Regions from separate parts of the Homo sapiens genome. Here region 2 is linked to region 1. The links are contacts of gene promoters, found by promoter capture Hi-C in human tissues and cell types (Jung and others, 2019). All regions are on one chromosome and are shown on one strand. Each heading gives the region's core, a stretch centred on a gene start or on the middle of the fragment in contact. The rest is flanking DNA. Distances are from core to core; before and after follow the strand shown.

What was found. Contacts are between HindIII fragments. The study calls those that stand out against the background at their distance.
Region 2: a fragment that was not itself captured here is called in contact with the fragment with the promoter of HPN in region 1 in 1 of the 25 tissues and cell types used here (pancreas).

The regions. Positions count from the first base shown.
Region 1 is chr19:35,040,471-35,045,358 of GRCh38, forward strand. HPN (hepsin) reads left to right here and starts at 1,251. Exons shown (of 13, transcript NM_001384133.1): 1 at 1,251-1,402; 2 at 1,983-2,052. The coding sequence starts at 2,037. RefSeq lists an enhancer at 1-722. The HindIII fragment of the contact is 10,578 bases long and covers 1-4,888 here.
Region 2 is chr19:34,736,246-34,741,133 of GRCh38, forward strand. It overlaps ZNF181 (zinc finger protein 181), which reads left to right. Exons shown (of 4, transcript NM_001029997.4): 2 at 2,903-3,023; 3 at 3,278-3,376; 4 at 4,366-4,888. Among named protein-coding and RNA genes, the nearest start is that of ZNF181, 4.4 kb to the left of the region's middle. The HindIII fragment of the contact is 4,437 bases long and covers 1-4,227 here.

The DNA.
Region 1 (4,888 bases), core at 1-2,500:
CCCGTCACCTTCCCCCCATTCCCGTCCCCGAATCTTCGAGCCCGCTTTCCAGGGACCCTACCTGAGGGCCCACAGGTGAAGCCACTTAGTGCCTGATCTGTGTCGGGGTTGGGGGAGCCATGGGCTCAGGGGTGAGGGAGAGTGGAACGGAGCCAGGAAGGGAGGGGGTGCCGTGGAGGGAAGAGAATCGAGGCTGATGCTGGGGTGCAGGGGTGGCATGGGGTGTGTGGTGTGCCCAGCAGTGTGAGTCTCTGGAGAGGTGGGCGCTGGGGAGAAGGAGAGGGAAGGAGAGACGGGTATGGATGGAAAGGCAGAGGAAGCCAGGCTAAACCAGCGTGTCCCAATGAGGGGCCCTGGGCTGAGTGGAGGAAATGGGTGCGGTGGAGGTGGGTTTGGCTGGGCACAGCGGGCACGTGTGGGTAAGCGGGTGGGGCCGGTTGTGCGGGTGGCCTATCTGGGGCAAGCAGCCGAGGCCGACTGTGTCCGGCGTGTGGTTGAGCACGGGCAGGTGTCTGGCGGTGACCCTGCACGTCTGGTGTTTACCTGGCCCTGGGTCTGACGTGGGCCGCGCCTGGCTGCTGGCGGGACAGTGTGTTATCTGCCTGCGGACGCTTCCGGCCACTTGGCCTGGGCCTCTGCCCTTAGCGCTGTGTTTTCCCGGCCAAGCCCCCCATCCCCCCTATCTAGTGCTAGGACTTTCTGGCTCCAGAGGTCACCGCGGCCGGGCGGAGGCTGCCAAAGCAAACCAGCCCCGTGACTTGTAGGAAGCCAGCGGGGGAGGGGCCGGGGCAGGATGAGCAGGGCAGGCGGGAGAGGCTGGGGCTGGGGTTGGGGCCCAGGAATTGGGCAGGGAATTAGGCAGAGGTGCAGCAAGTGGCGGGCACAGCCAGGACCTGGGGCTGGAGGACGCAGAAAGGGCGGGGGGAAGGGTTCGCTGGGTGAGGGTGGAGTGGGCTTAGGGCAGCTGGGGCCCTCCATCTGATCTCTTCTGGTCAGACCCCCACCCTTCAGCCTGCACTTTCTCCCTAAACCCCCAGCCTCCGGCCAGGCCTGTCCCTGTTCCCACATCCCCGCAGACAGGCACACCTGGGTCCCCCTGGAGGTCCAAGGCAAGCCCCGTAGCTGGGCCCGCCTGGTCCAGCCCCCACAAGCCCGGCCCCATCAGCCAGGTGGCCTCCAGTGCTGCCAATCGAATGGTCCGGCCCCTCCCCGCCCCTTCACCCGCCCCTCGCCCAGCCCCCTCCTCCTCAGGTGAGGCAGCCTGGCCTAGCAGGCCCCACGCCACCGCCTCTGCCTCCAGGCCGCCCGCTGCTGCGGGGCCACCATGCTCCTGCCCAGGCCTGGAGACTGACCCGACCCCGGCACTACCTCGAGGCTCCGCCCCCACCTGCTGGACCCCAGGGTAAGGACAAGGGCCCCCAGACTCACAGTTCCAGCCCTGAGGACAGGGGTTCCCTCATCCCCCCACCCAGCCTAATGCCCACCTCCTAATAGAGGGGTTCCTGGGGACCTGAAGAGGGGGCACTATGACGTCCCCCCAAGCACCTAGGTGTTCTGTCCTGCTCTTCCTTCAGACTCAGCCGTTGGACCCCAGTCCTTTCCTCCCCAGACCCAGGAGTTCCAGCCCTCAGGCCCCTCCTCCCTCATACTAGGGAGTCCTGGCCCCCAAATTCCTCCTTTCCCAAGACTTATGATTTCAGGTCCTCAGCTGTCTCCTCCCTCAAACCGGGATCCTCAGTCCCCTGCTCCACCAGGCTCAGGCATGGGGGTCCCCATCCCTGCAAATCCAGGCGTCCCCCCGCTGCTGGTCAGACACTGACCCCATCCTTGAACCCAGCCCAATCTGCGTCCGTGATCACGGCGTGCTCTGGCCAAGGCCCAGTCCCTACAGCCTGCCTGGATGGACGCCTGGGACTGGGGGCGCCAGGACTGGGCTGGGCTGGGCTCCCCCAGGCCCTGCCTCCCCGTCCATCTCCTCACAGGTCCCACCCTGGCCCAGGAGGTCAGCCAGGGAATCATTAACAAGAGGCAGTGACATGGCGCAGAAGGAGGGTGAGTCCCCTTCCCTGAGCCCCAGCTTTGGCTCTGCCTGGCGCCCCGCCCTCTGTGCTCTTTTCTCTACCCTCTACTCTTCGGAGCCCCCTCTCTCTGGGCACCCCTCCCAGATGCATCCCCACCCCTGTTAGTCCTCCTCCACCTGATTAACTATTAACCACATTTTCTGTGCAGCTGTGCCACCACCAGCCTCCCTTCTACCCTATGTGACCTTCCTGGCGTGCTGCCTCAGTTTCCCCTCATCCCCCAGTGATTTCTCAGCTAACTCTGGACTTGTCCTCTGCTGGGGCTGAGGCGGGGAAGCTGTAGCTGTCATGGTTAAGGACACAGATTTGGAGTGAAACACACAGGCTTGCATTTGAATTTGCTCTTGCCATCTTTTTTGCTGTGTGATCTGGTGCAAGTGACATTATTCTTAGGGCTTTGGTCTCCCTCTGGGTCAAGCATGGATACCAGTCCTCCCTCTGTGAGGTTGCTGAGTGCATGACACACACCAGGCACTGGTCTGGGGCTCTGCATATAAGACGCATGCCATCAAGCAGAGCTGTCATGACAGAGGTTGGCAAACTCGGAGTCCCAGAGACCCAGGACCCCCACCGATCCCAGACATTCCTCCACCTCCTGGCTCTGTGGGCAAAAGAGCAGAGGGAGGACTTTGGACTGGGCCTGGATGGATGGAGAGGGGAGAGACGGCAGAGAAACCACCATAAGGATGAGAGAGAGAGACTGCGTCATGGAGTTGCTGGCCCTTGGGAGTCTCTGGGCAGCCCCCAGCTAGCCTGGCTTCCTTTCTACCTCTCACACATGGGACCCAGCTGGAGGGGCGCATGGAGGGGCGTCCTGTTCTTTCTGCCTTCCCCTAGCTGGGGCTGACTCCCTCTCTTCTTCCGCAACCAGGATAGCCGGGCTCAGTCCTGGGCAGTAGCACTTTCTAGCTGTGTGGCCCTGGGCAGACGGCGTGTTCTCCCTGGGCCTCCATTCTCTCATCTGTGAAATGGAGAGGGTGACAGTGCATGTCCAACAGCGTGGGGCGAGGCCTGAAATGCCAGGATGGGCAGGAAGCACTGAGCGTGTTGGCTGAAATGATTAGTTCAGATCTCTGGCCTCCTCGGGTCTCGGCACAGCTGGCAATTCAGACCCCAAACCAATCAGCTGCAGTCCAGAGGGAACCCAGGCTCCCAGTTACTCAGGAGAAGGCATTGCACCCTAGCCGAGCAGGTGGATGACAGAATCCAGCTCCTTGGGGACAATCTCTTTCCTGGAGCTGCCGGAAGGACAGCCCCAGGGCTTGGGCCCATGGGTGAATGAGCCAGGGAAGAAAAGCAGAAAATGCCCGAATGGACAGAGATGGCCTGGGTACAAAGAGAAACAGACACAAAGTGGGCTCTGGTGCCTCCCTGGCAGCTCCGGGCTGGTCTTGGAGGGGAGTCCTGCTGTCAGGGCTAGGGGTGTGGAGGTCGAACCTGGACACAGATGCTGAAGGGTTCCGATTCTGCACTTACTTGCCGGGTGACCCGGGTTTGGTGGCTGCCGGACTTTGGGCCTCCTTTTCTCATCTGTAAACTGGGGGTGATGGCAATGGCGCCTTCCTCGTGAACAGCTGCAAGGATTTAAGTAAGGATGCTGTGCAGGACTGGACGGGGTTAGGGTAGGGCGGTGCGTCCGTGTGTGATTCAGAGAGCCGTTGTGGCTGCAGCGGCTGCTGTTGTTGGTGTCACTGTTATTGCTGCTGGCTTCTTGGTGCTGCCTGGAAACTTGGAATTGGAGGAGGTGATACTGGAGTTGCAATTCCAAGGATGCCAGGCAGAGGGAAGAGCAAGGCTCTTGCTCTTCTCTGGGAAGCTGGGAGGTGACACAGCACTGGTGTGCACGTAGCCAATTGTGGTATTTCTGGAGGTGAAGCTGGAAGTTGAGCTGGGTGGGAGAAGAGGTGTGCAAGCTGGACCAGGCAGGGGTGGGACTGTTTTGGGGAAGAGCTGGCCAATTCCTTGCAGTACCAGGTCTCTCCACAAGGTGGCGCCAGTGGTTAGTCCCTGCTTCTCTTGTCTAACTTGTATTTTACAAGTTCTACTGTTTGGGTTGCTTTTTGGAAGCTCTCTCTGGTACCTGATAGTGACCCACATGGTTGTCTGAGAATTGGGGGAAACATACTCCCAAATCTCTGAAAGCCATGCTTATACCCTAGTGGGGCTGGAAATGCCAGGCTGAGGGACTTAAGCTGTCTGGGGGGTACTAGGGAGTCACAGAGGGTTCTATAGGTAAAGAGGGGACAGGTTGGATTTGGTGTCTCAGTAGGTTCCCCAAGCCTCCGTGTGGAGGGTGCGCTAGAAGGGAGACTGAGCCCAGCGGTTGGATGGGGCCGGAGCAAGGTGCAGATGGAGAGAAAGAAGGAAACGGGGGAAGGAGAGTCACTCAGGAGGATTGGCAGGCTGTCGGGGGAGGGGAATGTTATGCAGATGGGGATGGTCCTAGGAGTGAGGGCCTCTGAGACAGGACCGGGAGGAAGAATATACTTGGGGAGACATTGGGGAGACATTCTGGGACCTGGTAGGGGCAAAGGGACTAGGAGGTCCCAGGGAAAGGTATTTAAAAGGTATTTAAAGGACTGCAGGAGCCCTGACCTGGGACCTGGAAGAGGGTCTAGGGCTGGGGACAGAGGGGAAACTGAGTCCACAGAGGTGGGTGAGACAGACTTAGGGGCAAGGAGGAGCAGGGGGAGGCTGCGGCCAGCCCTACAAACTCTGGATTTTACGGAGTAGGTAGAGGGTGGGTGAAGACAGCAGCCTCAGAGGCGGGAAGGAAAATCAGGTGCGCCTGGTGTCCCAGAAGTCCA
Region 2 (4,888 bases), core at 759-3,258, 300 kb before region 1:
TTGGAGAAGTTAGATAATTAGAATTGAAAAACTGGTGTGGTGGTACATGCCTGTTTTTCCAGCTATTCGGGAGGGTGATGAGTTGAGAAAATTTCTTGAACCCTGTGGTGTGCGGCTGCAGTGAGCTATGATTATGTCACTGCACTCCAGCCTGGCGGCAGAGCAAGAAAAAAGTAACAGCTAAAGTGAACTAATGCCAAAATCATTCATTGGTTCATCTTCTAAACACTTAGGAAGTATCTGTTAGGAAAAGTTGTACATGGATTTTGGTGTACACTGACACACAGGACTTCATGATCTAGTGCAGTATTGTCTAAGAGAACTTTCTGCAGTGGTGGAAGTGCTCTGCATGTGTACTGGTCAGTACAGTAGCCACCAGCCCTGTATGACTATTGAGTACTTGAACTGTGGCTTAAGCAACTGAGAAACTGAATTTTAAACTTTACTTATTTTATTTTTACATTTTAATTAATTTAAATGTATGTAGCCAAATTGCCTAGTGGCTACTGTATTGAGGATTGCAGCACTGGTAGAAAAGTAAGAAAGCATAAGAAATTAAAATAAATGCCAGGACAGATAGGCTATGTTCTTTTGGGGACAGAGATGAGTGAACACCCCAGGCTGCCCAGACAACTGAAGGGGAAGAAGGAAGCATCCCTGGCTCTAACTTGTAATAACCTGTTCATCATAAAGCTATGAGAAATGTTTTTTTGATTTGGGATAAAGGGAATTAACTAACACAGTGGCAACTCCAATTAACAGGTGAATTTAGGATAAATTATGTGTAGCAAATTGAACTGTAAGGTCTTACTTGATTATTTGGAAAATGTATGTATTGGATTGTATCTGCTTGGCTATAAAAAAGAGATTTCTTCCTGTCCTTTTAATCTCATTAGTGGATTGCCTGTGAAGTGCATCACAGTTGATTTAGTGATTATTAAGTAATAAAACTGTGTTCTTTTTTTCTACATTTGTGGAGAGGATTTTCTGCCATTGGCAGGAGATTTGAATTTTAATTATTTTCCCAACACCTGGCAAAAATAAATTCTGCCTTTAAAACCAAAGACGAGTATCACTGGTGAACATGCATGCAAAATATCCAAATAATGTAATACAATGCTGAATTAACTCTCAGAGCTAAAAAATTACCACAGGCAAGCAGTCTGTTTCACAAATCAAAGACAGTAATAATGCTGTATTAAATAGATGTATTTTTTGTACATATTATAATTTGACTAGCCAATAAACTATTATTGAATATTTAAGCTTCCAAAGTTTTACTAAAAAGTAATATTGTGAAATGAGTACTATTGAAAGGAATTTCTAAGCCACATCTGTGAACATTTCCTTATTTTCTTTGAAACGTACCCCTTTATTTTTTTCCCTTTACTTTCAGGTCTTATTTAAGGACTATCTAAGGCAGTGGTGCCCAACCTTTTTGGCACCAGGGATCGGTTTTGTGGAAGACAGTTTTTCCACAGAAGCAGGAGGTGGTGGTTTGGGGGTGAAACTGTTTCACCTCAGATCATCAGGCATTAGTTCAATTCACATAAGGGGCGTGCAACCTTAATCCCTTGCATGCGCACTTCACAGTAGGGATTGCGCTCCTATGAGAGTCTAATGCCATAGCTGATCTGACAGGAGGCAGGGCTCAGGTGATAAAAGTCATTTGCCTGCCACTCATCTCCTGCTCTGTGGCCTGATTTCTAACAGGCCACAGACTGGTACCAGTGGTTATGTACCCCTAACCATCAGGGGATTAGGGACCCCTGATCTATGGCATGAAACCATCCTTCAGTCTTTTCACCCAGGGGTCTCATATTTTAATAATTGTCTATCAGTACAAAGTTTAAGTATACACCATAAATATATTTTTCTTTTTTGTTTATGAATCAGTTATGTGTATATTTTAGTCCATTGGTGCTGCTATAACAGAATACCACAGACTGAGTAATAGAAATTGACTTCTCATGGTTTTGGAGCCTGGGAAGTCCAAGATCAAGGGGCAGGCATCCAGCAAGGGCCTTCTTGCTGTGTCCTTTTATGGTGGAAGGGCGAAGAGAAGAGAGAGAACCAAAAAGGGGCCCAAACTCATTTTTTAAATAAGGAAGTCACTCCTAATGATGATGACATTAATCCATTCATGAGGGCAGAGCCCTCAAGGCCTAATCATCTCCTAAGGTCTCACCTCTCAAAACTGTTACAGCGGCGATTAAGTTCAATACACGCGTTTTGGGGGTCACAATCAAACCATAACAGTGTATGTCTATTAGTCTTTAATATAAAGGTTTTTTTTTTGTTTTTGTTTTTTTTTTTGAGACAGAGTCTTGTTCTATTACCCAGGCTGGAGTGCAGTGGCGCAACCTCCGCCTCTTGGGTTCAAGCCATTCTCCTGCCTCAGCCTCCCAAGTAGTTGGGATTACAGGTGTGAGCCACCACACCCAGCTGCCCATTTTTTGTGAGCCTTAGTGGATCATCCTGAGTATCCCATTTGAGAGACAATCACTTTACCCTCATTTTTTAATTACTTACCTAGCAGTTAAGCTGTAAAAGATATAACTAAATACTTGACTCTGTGCTGTCAAATGTCAAATGCTGATTTTTAAAAATTCATGTATTTCTGTAACTTTTAGCAAAATTAACTCTACTGAAGCAAAGCTCTCATATTTGTTTCTCACCTTTATTGTATAATAATTCTAAGCACATAACTGTCCCCCTTATTGTATAGTAATTCCAACTACATAACTGTCCTATTATTACTTAACTGAGATCACATTCCCAATCATTGCCACAACTCCTGAATCTTGTTCCATTTCTCCCACAACCAGGCTAATTTTACCCTTTCTTCAGTGACAGAAGAGGCCTGGGCTATGGCTGAGCCTAAATATGTTTGCTATTTCAGGTGACATTTAATGATGTGGCTATAGACTTCACTCATGAAGAGTGGGGATGGCTCAGTTCTGCTCAGAGGGACTTATACAAGGATGTGATGGTCCAGAATTATGAGAACCTGGTCTCTGTAGGTAAGGATATTACCCCTTCCACTCCAGTAGGGGACACCTTTCTTTTGCCACCCTGAATTGCTGGAGACCCTCCTAAGTAAATGGCTGAATTTCTGTAGCATGTTCCCAAGGAAATGTGCAGCTCTGTTGTGCCCTGCCTGAAGCTTATCTTTCCATTTCGATGAATACCCTTCATCCCTTCCTGTGGTCCCTCTTGTGATGGCCTCTCATAATAGAGGACCACGGCTTAAACAATTCTGTATTCTTCCTGTAAGCAGGTCTTTCTGTAACTAAGCCATATGTGATCACGTTATTGGAGGATGGAAAAGAGCCCTGGATGATGGAGAAAAAACTGTCAAAAGGTATGATTCCAGGTGAGTCATGGTGAACGAGACAAAGGAAGATTTTGTTAAAAAGGGTCCCAAACTCTTTATAGTGAGTTTATAGTGAGTGTGGAGGCATTTTAGGTATACTGTTTTCAAAGATCTCAGATAGAAATGAAAAATTGTGGGATATTTAGCTTAGATTTTCAAAACAATTGTTCCTCTATCCCAAATTATTATCTGTATCACTCATGTCATCCAATCAAGGTTAGAGGTTTTTGCCTTCATAATAATTCAATTGTTACTCTATTCATAACAGTAAGGCAAATTATTCTTTCTTAAATCTACTTAAAGAAAAACATACTGATAGTTTTAGGCTAAGAAAAGCTGTCAATTAGATGGGAAATCACTTTTCTAAAGCTGAGCGTTGTAGATGAAATATGAACATATTAGAGGAAAAAATGAACATATATAAATATGTTTCTAGGAATATTTTCTAATGTCCAATAAATGACATGATTCACACAGTTTCTTCATAACTTCAGAAAGCCTAAATCTTTGTCAGCTATAAAGAGCATTTAGATTATTGTGTTTTTACTGCAACTGTTTAATAACATCAATTCTGTATTTTAAGCATGTTAATCTGGCAGCAAATTGAGATTAATTGAATGTTGGAGAAAAAGGCTATGAGACAAAATGCAATCTTTCATACATGCATATAGGCACAAAATGATGGCTTGGAATCCAGAATGCCTTCCACATTTTATTTCTGATAACTTCCTTTTTTTCCATACTATTTCATCCATTACATATATTTTTCCCATTTCCATTATCACACTGTGTTCCCACTTCTGTGAACTCTGTATTCTCTGCTCCATTTGAGCACTGTTCAGAAATCATTGAAATATTTCAGTTGTCAGAACTATGTGTTTTCTGGGGGCTTCATTTCTAATCCAGTTCTCCTAATTCCAATTTAGAAGTTTCTTTTCAAATAGTTAAAAAAAAACAAAACAGTGCTTTGCTTTTTTGATGTATTTCAGATTGGGAATCAAGATGGGAAAACAAGGAATTATCAACAAAGAAGGATAATTATGATGAAGATTCACCCCAAACAGTAATAATAGAAAAAGTTGTAAAACAAAGTTATGAATTTTCAAATTCTAAGAAGAATTTGGAATATATAGAGAAGTTGGAAGGGAAGCATGGAAGTCAGGTAGACCATTTCAGACCAGCAATTCTCACCTCTAGAGAAAGCCCCACTGCAGACAGTGTTTACAAATACAATATATTTAGAAGCACCTTTCATTCAAAGTCTACTCTTTCTGAACCACAAAAAATTTCTGCTGAAGGGAATTCACACAAATATGATATATTAAAGAAGAACTTACCAAAAAAGTCAGTTATAAAAAATGAGAAAGTCAATGGTGGAAAGAAACTTTTGAATTCTAATAAAAGTGGGGCAGCCTTCAGCCAGGGCAAATCTCTTACCCTTCCCCAGACTTGTAATAGAGAGAAAATCTATACATGCAGTGAATGTGGGAAAGCCTTTGGCAAACAGTCAAT